5 separate regions of the Homo sapiens genome follow, and regions 1, 2, 3 and 5 are each linked to region 4. Evidence: promoter capture Hi-C in 16 types of primary human blood cells and fetal thymus (Javierre and others, 2016). All regions are on one chromosome and are shown on one strand. The core of a region is centred on a gene start or on the middle of the fragment in contact, and the rest is flanking DNA. Distances in the headings are between cores, read along the strand shown.

Region 1 (2,700 bases), core at 159-2,658, 220 kb before region 4:
TAAAACCCCATCTCTACTAAAACTACAAAAATTAGCTGGGCATGGTGGCACGGTCCTGTAATCCCAGCTTACTCAGGAGGCTGAGACAGGAGAATTGCTTGAACCTGGGAGGCAGGGCCAAGCCTGGTTGACAGAGTGACACTCCATCTCAAATAAATAAATAAATAAACTTCACTGCCAGCGATTTAGCTGTTTTTCAGCCATAAGACCATCCTAAAAATTAATATCACTTACATTTTGGTAGAAACTATAAAATTTCACCCCAAAGCTTATCCATAATCATATATCAAAAGTTTTCTTTAGATCCAAATTATTATTCAGCATTAGAATTTCCATAATTAAAATTTAGTGGTATGCTAGTCATAGTCATCAACATTGTTAAGTTTATTTATATGTTTTAAGAAAAAATATGAATAAAAAATCCATGTGCAAGTTTTTATTTTATCCTAAGAATCGTGACTTTCATTTATAAGTATTCCAACTTTCCTTAAAAATATGAGACTAGTTTTTAAAATGTTTCCACCCACCCAACTAAATATGAGTTGGAACATTGTGAAAATACAGTGCAATCTGGAGAAACCCATATTACAACTGGAGAATTGAAATATGTTTTTATCATTTTGGAATAGAATGCTAAATTCCAAACATTTTAACTAGGAAACTGTGCTAGCAGTTGATTTTTAATATCATAGGCCTAATCCAAAGTAATCAAATCTTTTCATCAAAAAAAATAAAAAGTTCTAGCCTTCCCTTTCATTGTCATTGAGCAGAATCAGGAAAGACACCTAAAGACTTCTCTATTCCTTGATTCAAGAAACTCTGAGTATCTTTCAATATTGTCTAGCACTGTAGATTCCATTCCTCTATCCCTATAATTGCTTGCATTCCTTATTAATCCAAAAGTCAACTAACCAAGGCTTCTTCCCTCAGATAGGAAAAGATCGCAGGGCAATATGTGGTAATTCACATCTGGGCTTAAGTAGGATAGATGGCAGGCTTACATAACCTTTCTCCTCAAAGATTTTTTCAATTATATTTTAATTTTTAAAAATTACGAAGTAAAAAAGAAAAAAACAAACACTAAAACTATGAAGGGGCCCAATCTCATACCACATTTTACGAACCCATTCTCATGCCTCCTTCCAGCTTTCTTCTGTGGCTCCTCATTGCTTGAATCCAACAAGAAGCCTGGGGTCCTCAAAGATAATTCATCCACCCTGTTTCTTTCAATATAAATAGAAATTTTAGATAGTAAATATTCATCAAAGATGAATGAAAAGGAAATAAGACTGACATAAACATTTTAAATTGTGATATTGGGGAAGAGATGAAATAAAGGAATATATTCTAAAAAGAAAAGATATATTATGGAAGAAGATTAACCCCAGTAAGCAGAAGAAATATAGAGACAAATGTTTCATACCCCGAAGAAAATAAAATATATCAAAAGTGAAATCACAAGAGAATGAATGAAATATAAAAGATGTTAGAATGGCTAAGAGAAGGTATTGAGAGGGAAAAATCATACCGTTGCAGAAATAATACATGAATTAGAAATAAGAAGAAATAAGAAATGTCTGGCCGGGCACAGTGGCTCATGCCTGTAATCCTAGCACAGAGGCCAAGGTGGGAGGATCACTTGAGCCTGGGAATTCAAGACCAGCCTGGGCAACACAGTGAGACCTCATCTCTATTTTTAAAAAATAAAAATAAGAAATATCTAGCAGAAAATTGTGGGATGGATGACAGATTTGTTTTAAAGCACATCAAATACAAAGGAAAAGGACAAAGATTAAAGTGATTAGACAGGAGATGAAAAATATAGAAGACAACAGAAATCTGATTTAGAGAAATTGATGTCTCTGACAGAATTTACAACTAATGAAACTAAAAAAAATTTTTTTCAAAGATATACTATGGTAGCCTGCTAAATGTTCCCCCAAATCTGTTCTCTCCTTCTCCTATAATAGTAGTATTTTAGTTAGGCACCTGGTTAACAAGCTAGACTTTCTATCTAGGTGTGTCTAGGTGTGGCCATGACTAAATTCTAGGCAATGAAATGTGGGCAGGAATGATTGTGTGTCACTCTGGAAGTCTTCCCTTAAAAGGCTTAGATCTGTGCCTTCCTAGACCCTTCCCCGATTCACAGTGACTGGAGGTAGGGTTGCCAAGTTTAGCAAATAAAAACAATGAGCACACAGTTCAATTTGAACATCAGATAAACAACAGATAACTTTTTAGTATAAAAAAGCCTCATTCAAATTGGTGTTTGAAACCAAAAAAAAAAAAAAGAAAAGAAAAATGTTGCAGGCAATAAACAAATCAGATTTTAGTGTGTGTCTCATTAAAAAAAAAACTGTTGGGCATAGTGGCTCACACCTGTAATCCAACACTTTGGGAGGCCGAGGCATAAGGATTTTTTGAGCCCAGGAATTCAAGACCAGCCTGGTCAACATAATTAGACCTATCTCTACAAAAACATTTAAAAATTACCTGGGTGTTGTAGCTAATTTTTAGCCCAAGCTATTCTTGAACTCCCAGCCTCAAGCAAGCTTCACACCTTAGTCTCCCAAAGTTCTGGGATTACAGGCATGAGCCACTGCACCCAGCCTTTCAGCTGCTTTTAAATGTGAATGACCACATGATTCAATCTTTAAGTCACATTATTTGTTTTCTTCAAAATTTTTCTTATCAATTAAT
Region 2 (2,700 bases), core at 143-2,642, 190 kb before region 4:
TTTCTGGATGAGATTAACATTTGAATTGGTAAACTGAATAAATCAGACTGCCCTCTCCAATGTGAGTGGCCATTATCCAATCTGTTGAAGGCCTGAATAGAACAAAAAGGCTGGGTAATAGAAAACTCCTTCTGCTTGACTGCATTCAAGCTGTGACATTGTTTTTTTCCCTGCCTTCGGACTTGAATTGAAACATGTACTCTTCCTGTGTCTTAAGCCTGTTTGGCTTTGGGACTGGAACTCCATACACCATTGGCTCTCCTGGGTCTCCAGCTTGCTGACGGCCAACTTTGGGACTTGTCAGCCTCCATAATTGCATAAGCCAATTCCTTATAATAAATCTTTTTTTGTACACATCCTATTTGATGTGGTTTGGCTCTGTGTCCCCACTCAAATCTCATGTCAAATTGTAATTCCCAGTGTTGGTGGAGGGGCCTGGCGGGAGGTGATTGGATCATGGGGATGGTTTCTAATGGTTTAGCATCATCCTCCAGTGCTGTCTCATGATGGAGTTCTTACGAGATCTGGTTGTTTGAAAGTGTCTAGCACTTCCCCCTTCACTCTCTCTCTTCCTCCTGCTCTGGCCATGTAAGATGTGCCGGTTTCCCCTTTGCCTTCTGCCATGATTGTAAGTTTCCTGAGGCCTCCCCAGCCATGCCTCCTGTACAGCCTGTAGAACTATGAGTCAATTAAACCTCTTTTCTTCATAAATTACCCAGTCTCATGTAGTTCTTTATAGCCGTGTGGGAATGGACTAATACACTATTGGTTCTGTTTCTCTGAGGAACCCTGACTGATACAGCACCCCTATTGGGATTCTTCCAGTTTTGACCCTCTGCCTTTGAAACTTTATGCATGGAGTCTATACCTGCAATATACTACCACCAGCCTTCCAGAGCACTACTTTCTGCCCAATCAGTCTTTGGTTGTTACCTCTGAATTGTAAAAACTGATAATGAAATTGGCTAACATTAATAGGAACATATTCTGACTCAAAGATTATGCTAAGGATTTTACATCTACTGTCCTAGTTAATGTAACAATATAGAAAGATATGGGGGGATGGGAGAGTGAGGTGAAGAATAAGAAGAAAGAATCAGGCTGGGCACAGTGGCTCACACCTTTAATCCCAATACCTTGGGAGGCTGAGGAGGGAGGATCACTTGAGGCCAGCAGTTCAGGACCAGCCTGGGCAGCATAGCAAGACCTCATCTCTAAAAACAGTTAGCCAGGCATCCAAGATCAGGTGCTGGCAGAAAAAAAAAAAAAGAAGAAGAAGAATAATCAGTGAATCAGTGCTGTGGCTGCCACATAATTTGGGATCTATGAGCAATATACTCTCTGCCCAATATTCCAATTGCTGCAGAATCTCTGAATGCAAGAATAACAGGGCTGATAAAAAAAAGTGCTCCTACATCTTTTCAGGCGAGTTAGGTATACTGTGAAGCAATGTCTGAGTGATTTTCTCAGTCAAGTTAGACCGTAAGCTCTGTAAAGGCCAATAGCATGATGGTATTTGTCCACTGTGTATTCCTAGTACCTAGCAAGGTACTTGGCACAGAATAAGTGTTCAAAATTTCCCATTAATGTTTGCCAAATCTAATTTTCAGTTAATAAAGACTCACCCCAGATTCTGATAAGTTGTATATGTCTTAATTTTCCTTGTGTTAATTTTTCTTCTTTTTTTCTGTAGTTTCATAGCTATTTTAGTGGACAATTGGGAGACACTTTATATACGTTTAAACCAGAAGTCACTTTAATGAGTTTTAAACATTGTGTCAAAGCTCAGGAATGGCTCTACTAAAAGTCAATAATCGTATATATTTCATAAATTGAATTAGTTGATTAATGCATAAGAGTTGAAAATATCAAAGAGAAATATTATTTTATGACCCTGAGTAAATATTTCCATTGCTCGGAACCCTTTTCCTTATCTGTACAATGAAGAAAATTACAGACACCCTAAGGTTTGTTATATATATGTGCATAGGGGTGAAGGGACTAACATAATGTATGTAAAACTGCTTTGCAAATGTGAAATCCTAGATATTTTGTTTTATTTTATTTTATTTTATTTTTTGAGACAAAGTCTTGCTCTGTCGCCCAGGCTGGAGTGCAATGGTGCGATCTCAGCTCACTGCAACCTCTGCCTCCCGAGTTCAAGTGATTCTCAAGCCTCAGCCTCCCAAGAAGCTGGGATTACAGGCACATGCCATCACACCCGGCTAATTTTTGCATTTTTAGTAGAGATGGGGTTTCACCACGGTAGTGTCTAACTCCTGTCCTCAAACAATCCACCCGCCTTGGCCTCCCAAAGTGCTGGGATTACAGGCATGAGCCACCGCGCCTAGTCAAAAGCCTATATATTTTAGATGTTTTGGTTGTTATCTTTATTGTTTTCTGCCTTGTGTGCTAATCTACATATATCTTTTTTAAAAAAAAAAAACTCCAACCACATATTTCACTCTGTCACTGCCAGAAGCAACAGTACAGTATTATACTCTCCAATTTCTCTACCAGATTCAAGGGTTATGGCCTCTTTGGCAGGGAGAGAGTTACTGTCAGGAAAATCTTACTGTTGGATCCAGGACAAACCATTAAACAGTTGCATAAGTCTTTGTCAGCTTGGAGTTGTTGTTCTGCAGGTGTTTTGCTATGTTGACACAGCTCATGTTTGCCCTGTTTTACTTATTGCTCTTT
Region 3 (2,700 bases), core at 153-2,652, 170 kb before region 4:
GAAGCTCTAAAGTTAAATACCCTAACATATATATATGTTAAATATTCTAGCATCTGAGAGGTTAAGTAAATATCCTAGCATCCCAGAGGGTTAGGGCTCAGAGAATATGTGATTTTAAAAATTACATATACATGTGTATATATAATTTTTTGTCCAGGTGAAATGACATATGTATATATACATATATATGTATATACATACATATATATATAATTTTAAAAATCACATATTCTCTGAGCCCTAACCCTCTGGGATGCTAGGATATTTACTTAACCTCTCAGATACTAGAATAGTATATATATATATATATGTCTATACATATATATATGTCTATACACACACACATATATATGTCTAGACATATATATATATATATATATATGCCTGTAATCCCAGCCTGGCCTCAACTTGCATTTTTAAGCTTTAATGCTGTCATTATTGCTTCCCACCTTATAAGGCAGATACTTTTTTTCTTTGAGATAGTCTCGCTCTGTTGCTCAAGCTGGAGTGCAATGGCATGATCTCAGCTCACGGCAACCTCCGCCTGTTGGGTTCAAGCGATTCTCCCATCTCAGCCTCCCGAGTAGCTGGGATTACAGGTGCCCACCACCACGCACGGCTAATTTTTGTATTTTTTATTTTAGTAGAGACAAGGTTTCACCATGTTGGCCAGGCTGGTCTTGAACTCCTGACCTTAAGTGATCTGAGTGCATTGGTCTCCAAAAGTGTTGGGATTACAGGCGTGAACCACTGCGCCGGGCCAAGCAAGCACTTAAATTTTTTTTTTTTAATTATTATTATTTTTCGAGGATGGAGTCTCACTCTGTCATCCAGGCTGGAGTGCAGTGGTGTGATCTCGGCTCACTGCACCCTTTCCCTCCCAGATTCAAGCACTTCTCCTGCCTCAGCCTCCTGAGTAGCTGGGATTACAGGCACCCACAACCACACCTGGCTCATTTTTGTATTTTTAGTATAGACGGGGTTTCGCCATGTTGGCCAGGCTGGTCTTGAACTTCTGACCTCAAGTGATCCACCCATCTCGGCCTCCCAGAGTGCTGGGATTACAGGTGTGAGACACCATGCCTGGCCAAGGCAGGCATATTTAAAAGGCAAATTTCCTGGAGATATTCTACTTTTGGAATCTTAATTGTAGCCTAAGACTATAGGAGTATGTAGGGCACAAAAGACCTGGGTCTAACAGGGTTAATCTCTTCCTGAAATTTCTCCAGTCCCGCGTTTCCATAAGAGGGTCAGCAAATAAAAGGAGAGAGAGAAACTTCTGGAAGGTCTGCTGCTGCTGCTGCTCCTGGGACAGAAAGGGAACCCAAGGGTATCTAGTTTAAGATGATGCCAGCAACCCAGTCAGATGTGAGAATCAGCCGAGCCAGCCAGTGGTCCTGGGCATCGTGGCTAGAGGCAGAAATTCCAGCTCTACTGCAAAACTTCTCCTGGCGTAAGGAGGAATCTACTACAGTCATGCACTGCATAATGATGCTTCTGTCGAGACAGACTACAGATACAGGGGTGGCCCCATAAGATTACAATGCAGTTGGCTGGGTACAAGTGGCTCAGGCCTGTAATCCCAGCACTTTGGGAGGCCAAGGGGGGCAGATCTCTTGAGGTCAGGCGTTTGAGACCAGCCTGGCCAACAAGGCGAAACCCTGTCTCTACTAAAAATACAAAAATTAGCCTGATGTGGCAGTGGGTGTCTGTAATCCCAGCTACTTGGGAGGCTGAGGCAGGAGAATCGCTTGAACCCGGGAGGTGGACGTTGTAGTGAGCCGAGATGGTGCCACTGCACTTTAGCCTGGGTGACAGGGCAAGACTCTGTCTCAAAAACAAAACAAAACAAAACAAAAACAAAACCCCAAAAAACAAGGTTACAATGCAGTTGAAAAACTCCTATCGCTAGTGGCATCGTCACTGTCATAACGTTGTAGCGCACTACGTGTTACTCACGTGTTTGTGGTGATGCTGGTGTCAACAAAACTGTTGTACTGCCAGTCATATACAAGGTTAGCGCATATAATATTTGCTAATAAATAATTATGTTACTGGGTTATATACTTACTATACTATACTTTTTATCGTTATTTGAGCTTGTACTCCTACTTATTTTTAAAAAGTTAACTGTAAAACAGCCTTGGGAAGGGTCTTCAGGAAGTATTCCAGGAGAAGGCATTGTCATCACAGGACATGAGCGCTCTATGTATGTTACTGCACCTGAAGACCTTCCAGTGGGACAAAATGTGGAGGTGGAAGACAGTGATGTTGGTGATCCTGACCCTGTGTAGGCCAAGGCTAATGTCTGGTTGTGTCTTAGTTTTTAATAAAAAAAGTTTAAAAAGTAAAACAATAAAAATTAAAAAATATAAAAATAGAGAAAAGCTTATAGAATAAAGATATAAAGAAAGAAAATAGGCCAGGCACGGTGGCTAATGCCTATAATCCCAGCAGCTTGGGAGGCTGAGGTGGGCAGATCACTTGAGGCCAGGAGTTTGAGACCAGCCTGGCCAACACGGTGAAGCCCTGTCTCTACGAACAATACAAAAATTAGCCGATCGTGGTGGCAGGCGTCTGTAGTCCCAGCTACTTGGGAGGCTAAGTCACAAGAATCGCTTGAACCTGGGAGGCAGAGGTTGCAGTGACCTGAGATGGCACCACTGCACTCCAGCCTGGGCAACAGAGCACGAGTCTGTC
Region 4 (2,700 bases), core at 189-2,688:
GGCTCAAAGGTCACCGCAGAGAGGCTGCCCTGACCACCTGAGCAAAAGCATCACTCCCCCCTTCTCCTCCAATTACCCTCTATCCTGTTACCCTCCTCCTATTGCACATATCTCTATTTGAAATTTTCTCTATTTGTTTACACACTGCTTGCCTATGTCTTCTCTAGAACGCAAGCTCATGAAGACAAGGCCTTTGTCTTTTGCACCCCAGAGCCTACAGCACCTCCTACAACCCAGCAGGACAATAAACGTGTGGAATGAATAAATCAACTCCTCATCCTTTCAGAAGGAAAGGTCCTGCTGTTAAATTAAGCACTGAGCCCCACATTTCAACCTGACCCTTCTGTCTGAATGTGACACGTTTCCCTCCCCAGCCCACTTACTTTAGTTCAGGCCATTCATATTCATAAACAGATTATCTGTGAATGACAAGCTGATCCCTGGAAAGAGATGGCAAGTTAGCCCCACCCACCATCCTCACCACCATTGAGTTTCACACTGAACCTGACACAAGTTATAACCACCACCTTCTAGGAAAACCACTTCTCAGGGAGCAGGGAGGACGTGGCCACAAGGTCAAGAACGGGTTGGATCCTAGCACACTGAGAGATGGGTACCCTCTGGCTGACACCGTCAGGATTCTCAGGGTTAATGAGGCTCAGTTCTGGGAAACCAGCACCCCACACCCTCCCATCCGGACACACTGCTAGATATTTTACATGCATCCTCCCAATTGGCTCCAGAGCCCAGCTTGCTGTTGCTCCCTTTTACAGACAAGCCATAGGTCACTCAGGAGCCGCCAGCGTGTCCTAGAGCTCCTGCAGAGGCCTCCACTGCCAGAGAGCCCCCAACCTGGGTACCAAAGGCTTCAAATCTCAAGCTCTGTCCACTTGAGCTACTTTATTTCCTAGCTGCCTTCAAAACCCCTCAGTGTGCTTTTTAAAAACAAAACTTGAAGCCCGCCCTGGAGGAGTCAAGAGGAGACCCAGGAAGAAGGAGGCCTCCAGAGCAGCACGCGGGGGTCTCTGGGGCCCTGCCGGGCTCGCAGAAGCGACTCCCCGTGGCTCGCGGGGATGGGGACGGCTGGGCGCCGGCGGGACGCTGCAGGAGCGAGCTACCGGCCGGAGGACACGGGGGGACGCTGGGAACTCGGGGTGAAGGGACGGGACTCAGAGTTTCGTCAGATTGGGGGCGGGGAGAGGAGGCCCGGGTCCGAGGATGGAAGCGATCCCCGCCGGGAGGGAGAACAAAGCGGTGGCCCTCTCTCTCCCCCGACGCACGGCAAGCATTTAATCTACAAGCAGGGTGCCAGGGAGGGAGGGGAGCGGGCCGAGCCCCAAAATAGGGAGTTTGCATTTACCACGACGCCTCGCCCGTAGTCTGGCGCCTCCTCGCTGCTCCCGGCCATGTTTCTCCCGGGGAACGCGGGAAGGGAAGACGGCGCGGGAAGGAGCAGGGAGGGCGAAGGCTGCGTGGGGGATGGGACGTGGGGATGGGGACGGGGACGGGGACGGGGACGGGGACGGGGACGGGTCCGCCCCGCCCCGGGCCCGCCGGCGGGAAGCAGCGGCCTGACGCGGATCCATGGCCCCGGCGCTGCGCCCCCTCCCCTGGCTAGGCCGCGGGGGCGCGGGGAGCAGCTGCCAAGCCGCTACCGCTCCCCCTGAGCGCGGGCCCCGGACGCGTCCCTTGCGGCCGCCGCTGTCGCCGCCGCCCCCTGCCGGATGGTCGCGTGCAGCCCCCGGCCCCGCCGCCAAGCCCCGCGGGGACTCTGGAGCAGGAAGCCCGCGGCAGGAAGAGAACGTGTCCCCCAGGCCCCTGATTCCCAGATCCACCGTCCCAGCCCTCGGGCTAACAATCTCCTTGACTCCTCCCTGCCAGATTTCATGCACGCGATTGTCCCAAGCAGAAGCGTGAAAGAGCCTGTGAGCCAGCGTGCTCTTGGAGGATGGGAAGTGTCCTGGATGTGTTTTCAAACCTTGGAGCCGCCACCCACCTCTCTCCACCTCCGCTCATCTCCCTCCACCTCCCCTCACCTCCCTCCACCTCCCCTCACCTCCCTCCATCTTCCTCCACCTTTCTCCACCTTCCCCCACCTCCCTCATCCCAGGGCCTGGAGCTGGAAAGATTACACCCGATTGCTTTTAGGGTGGCCCGGATCTGCAGTGATCAGATCTGGGCTTTGAGGATCCAGCCTTTCGGCCTTTCGTCAACTGCATTCAGGGGAGGAGGGGGAGAGATTTTTACACATTCTCTGCTTTACCAGTTTTGCAAGAACATCTGGTCAGATTGTAATTGTTCCAGGTTGCAGCTTTACTAAAGCAATCGCTCTTTTCTGATTAGAAATCCTTCTTGTATGAGTCTGTTGTTCATTTCAACCCCTCTCACATGCCTATGCTCCGGTTCTTTGTCCACTCCTGTAGGTTCCTGCTTTTTCTGGGTGTGTCTTCATTCCCCAGGTCCCTGACATCTCACCAGCGTCTTCATTCACTCAGCCCAATTCGGGTCGAAGCCCTGAATCCAAGAGAACTTAACACAGTTTTCCTGATGCAGGCGTCTTTTGTTCATCTTCGAATTCTGGCACACAGAGGGGAGAGGAATGCTGATTTTGCCTAGTTTAAAGGGGAAATAGTTATCAATCGGTTAATGACGTTCTAGGTTGGAAAAATATTAGTCATTCAGACTTGGCGCCCTGGTCCT
Region 5 (2,700 bases), core at 68-2,567, 250 kb before region 4:
GGCTCCTATTATCTCTTTTTCAGTCTACTTCTCTCCACTACTCCCTAAATTGGCCAGCAATTGGGAATGGGAGGGAAATATATAATTTACACATATATTTGCATATTATATCCATATAATTTTATTATTTACTCTAGATGTCTGATACATCTTTAGAATTATTATTATTATTATTATTTTTTTGAGATGGAGTCTCACTCGTCCCCCAGGCTGGCGTGCAATGGTGCGACCTTGGCTCATTGCAACCTCCACCTCCCAGGTTCAAGCGATTCTCCTGCCTCAGCCTCCCGAGTAGGTGGGATTACAGGCGCCTGCCACCATGCCCAGCTAATTTTTGTATTTTTAGTAGAGATAGGGTTTCACCATGTTGGCCAGGCTGGTCTCCAACTCCTGACCTCAGGTGATCGGCTCACCTCGGCCTCCCAAAGTGCTGGGATTACAGGCATGAGTCACCGTGCCCGGCCTAGAATTACTAGTTTTAAAAGCTGATGACTAGAACACTACATTATATCCTTCGGTAAAGAGAAGGCATCAAGCACCCAGACTTTGGAGTCTCACTCCCTGGGCCTGCGTGCTGCTCTGCACCTTCTTAGCTATGTGGCCCCGACAAGAGACTTAAGCCCTTGTTTATCAGCTTCTTCGTCTGTAAAATGGGAATGTGATATTCATAGCATCTCTGTAGAGTTGGTTAAATAGTCTGACACATAGTTAAGTACTCACTAAATATTACCTATTCTTCATCACTCACAAAATATTCAACTAACGTTCCTGCGGCATTTTTCATCATTTTAGAAGCTTGCTGTGAGGGGCAGAGAGAGGTGTTTTTTTTCCTCCCCTGCTGAAGGCCAATAGCTGTGATAGCTGCAATTCTGAAGCTTAGGTCAATGGTTCTCCAATACTGCTGGTGAAATACAGAAGCGGTCTGGCTGGATTTCTCCTAACAATGGTTAATAGGCCTCTGTCCTTTAATTCCCGTCCCCTTGCTCTCACCTGCAAGATCCACCTGTGGAAAACCAGCCATCTGTGCATTTTGGCAATGCCCGTTGTGTCCCTGCACATATTAGTGTCTCTGCTCATCCCATATGCACCCTGCCCACCAGCAAGGTTTCCCTGTGCCATTTCCAGCTGATGTCTTATACACAAGGTGATGAGTGTGGAAGTGCGCCGCAAGCACGTGCAGAGAGAGCACTCACACAGCACACCCACAACGCTACAGAGAGGCTGGCCTGGAGGTCAAGCCAGGAAAAAAGCCAATTTAAAGTATTACACCTAGGCAAGGCAAAACCCTCGGAGTTCTCAGCCTAAAGTCCAATTTCCAGGCTCCCTAACTGATTAAAATAATAAGAATTAAAGATGGTTTCGATTTTTCCATTTATGTTAACAATGAAATATAAAACATGAAAAATTGAGGCTTTTCTTTATGATTAGGTATTCTGGATTAATTTAGGATCTTATCCAGTGGTTGCAAAAAAGAAGTACCATTTAGCCACTTAGAATTTTTCTACATAATTATTTAAATAATATGGTAAGTGGTAACACCATAATACTTTGCATTTGTCCTAATTTTTAAAAGGATGATACAATGTAAAGTAATATTTAAAGAAAAACAAATTAAGTACCTCTCAAAAATAACCTTTAACTCTCTTTTGGCCATTGAAGGCAGAGCTTTAATGTGTGGAAGAATCACCTGACGATCTTGTTAAACTGCAAATTCTGATTCCCTAAAGTCTAGAGTGAGACCAGAACATCCGCATTTCTTACAAGCTTCCCGGAGTGTAGATACTGCTGGTCAGTTCATAGACCACACTTAAAGTAGCAAGAATTTAAGGTACCTTAAGTGTCAAAAGGCCTATTTCCAATTTCCTAGCTTATCAACGTAAAGCCTCCGTCTACTGGTGTTAGAAGCAGCTGCTGATTTTAACAGCTCTAAGGAACAGAGAACTAGGACACAATTTAACAAAACAGGAGGAGCGGAGGAGGAAGACAAGAGGAAGGAGCTTCAGGGAGAAAGCAGTAAAAATTAAAAAAAAAAATGCTCTATGCAGCCTCTCTTTCCCTCTTCCATTTGGTTTCCCCAGGGAGAGAGGGAACTTCACTAAGCTTGAGGCCTCTTTGGTGTGGGTATCTCCTTGTCGTTTCCAGTTCGAAGGATCCAATCTAGGATTCCTCCGGCTCTTCTTTCCTGAAATGGACTTATACAAAATGAGATTTCCATTAAATAATAAAAATTTCCAATCATTTTACAACCTTCTTTCAAAGAAAAAAAAAAGTGCCTTCTTTAATGGCATGATTGTTTTTCCCTTTGTAATATCTTAAATTGGAACAGAACATTTCTCTGAGAAGGGAACATGTGAATAGAACCCTAAAGAAAGCAAAGCAGCAGGCTATGCAGAGATCTGAAATGAAAGTATTTCAGGAAGTGGGAACGGTGAGTGCAAAGGCCCTGAGATGAACAGCAAAGGAGGCCAGTGTGGTTAGAGAAGAATGACTAGGGTTTGAAAAGGAAGTAGAAACAGGGTACTGGAGATAATGAAAGAAGGGAACAAAATCTCTTCAGGCCCTTGGCTTTTATGCTAATATGGGCAGCCTCTGGTGGACTCTGGTAGAATACCATGTTCATGTTCTGATGTTTAAAATGATCATACTCGATGCTGAGCTGAAAACAGACCGCAGGCTGTATACAAGTATCTACAGAAGTGA

Evidence for each region. Contacts are between HindIII fragments. The CHiCAGO score rates a contact against its expected background, and 5 or more counts as called.
Region 1: a contact is called between a fragment that was not itself captured here and the fragment with the promoter of PRTFDC1 in region 4, in 13 of 17 cell types (non-activated CD4 T cells, naive CD8 T cells, activated CD4 T cells and 10 more). The highest score is 15.3, in non-activated CD4 T cells.
Region 2: a fragment that was not itself captured here is called in contact with the fragment with the promoter of PRTFDC1 in region 4 in 2 of 17 cell types (naive CD8 T cells and activated CD4 T cells); the score reaches 5.4 in naive CD8 T cells.
Region 3: a fragment that was not itself captured here is called in contact with the fragment with the promoter of PRTFDC1 in region 4 in 1 of 17 cell types (non-activated CD4 T cells); the score reaches 6.7 in non-activated CD4 T cells.
Region 5: a fragment that was not itself captured here is called in contact with the fragment with the promoter of PRTFDC1 in region 4 in 11 of 17 cell types (activated CD4 T cells, non-activated CD4 T cells, total CD4 T cells and 8 more); the score reaches 10.4 in activated CD4 T cells.

The regions. Positions count from the first base shown.
Region 1 is chr10:24,730,064-24,732,763 of GRCh38, forward strand. No RefSeq gene overlaps it. Among named protein-coding and RNA genes, the nearest start is that of ARHGAP21, 7.5 kb to the left of the region's middle. The HindIII fragment of the contact is 2,284 bases long and covers 267-2,550 here.
Region 2 is chr10:24,759,722-24,762,421 of GRCh38, forward strand. All of the region lies in intron 2 of LOC105376456 (a long non-coding RNA gene), which reads right to left. Among named protein-coding and RNA genes, the nearest start is that of ARHGAP21, 37 kb to the left of the region's middle. RefSeq lists a silencer at 2,626-2,700. The HindIII fragment of the contact is 3,716 bases long and covers 1-2,700 here.
Region 3 is chr10:24,785,688-24,788,387 of GRCh38, forward strand. No RefSeq gene overlaps it. Among named protein-coding and RNA genes, the nearest start is that of ARHGAP21, 63 kb to the left of the region's middle. The HindIII fragment of the contact is 1,967 bases long and covers 420-2,386 here.
Region 4 is chr10:24,951,168-24,953,867 of GRCh38, forward strand. PRTFDC1 (phosphoribosyl transferase domain containing 1) reads right to left here and starts at 1,439. Exons shown (of 9, transcript NM_020200.7): 1 at 1,361-1,439. The coding sequence starts at 1,408. It also overlaps a transcript of THNSL1 not described here. RefSeq lists a silencer at 1,600-1,789. The HindIII fragment of the contact is 20,553 bases long and covers 1-2,700 here.
Region 5 is chr10:24,699,161-24,701,860 of GRCh38, forward strand. All of the region lies in intron 2 of ARHGAP21 (Rho GTPase activating protein 21), which reads right to left. Among named protein-coding and RNA genes, the nearest start is that of ARHGAP21, 23 kb to the right of the region's middle. The HindIII fragment of the contact is 889 bases long and covers 874-1,762 here.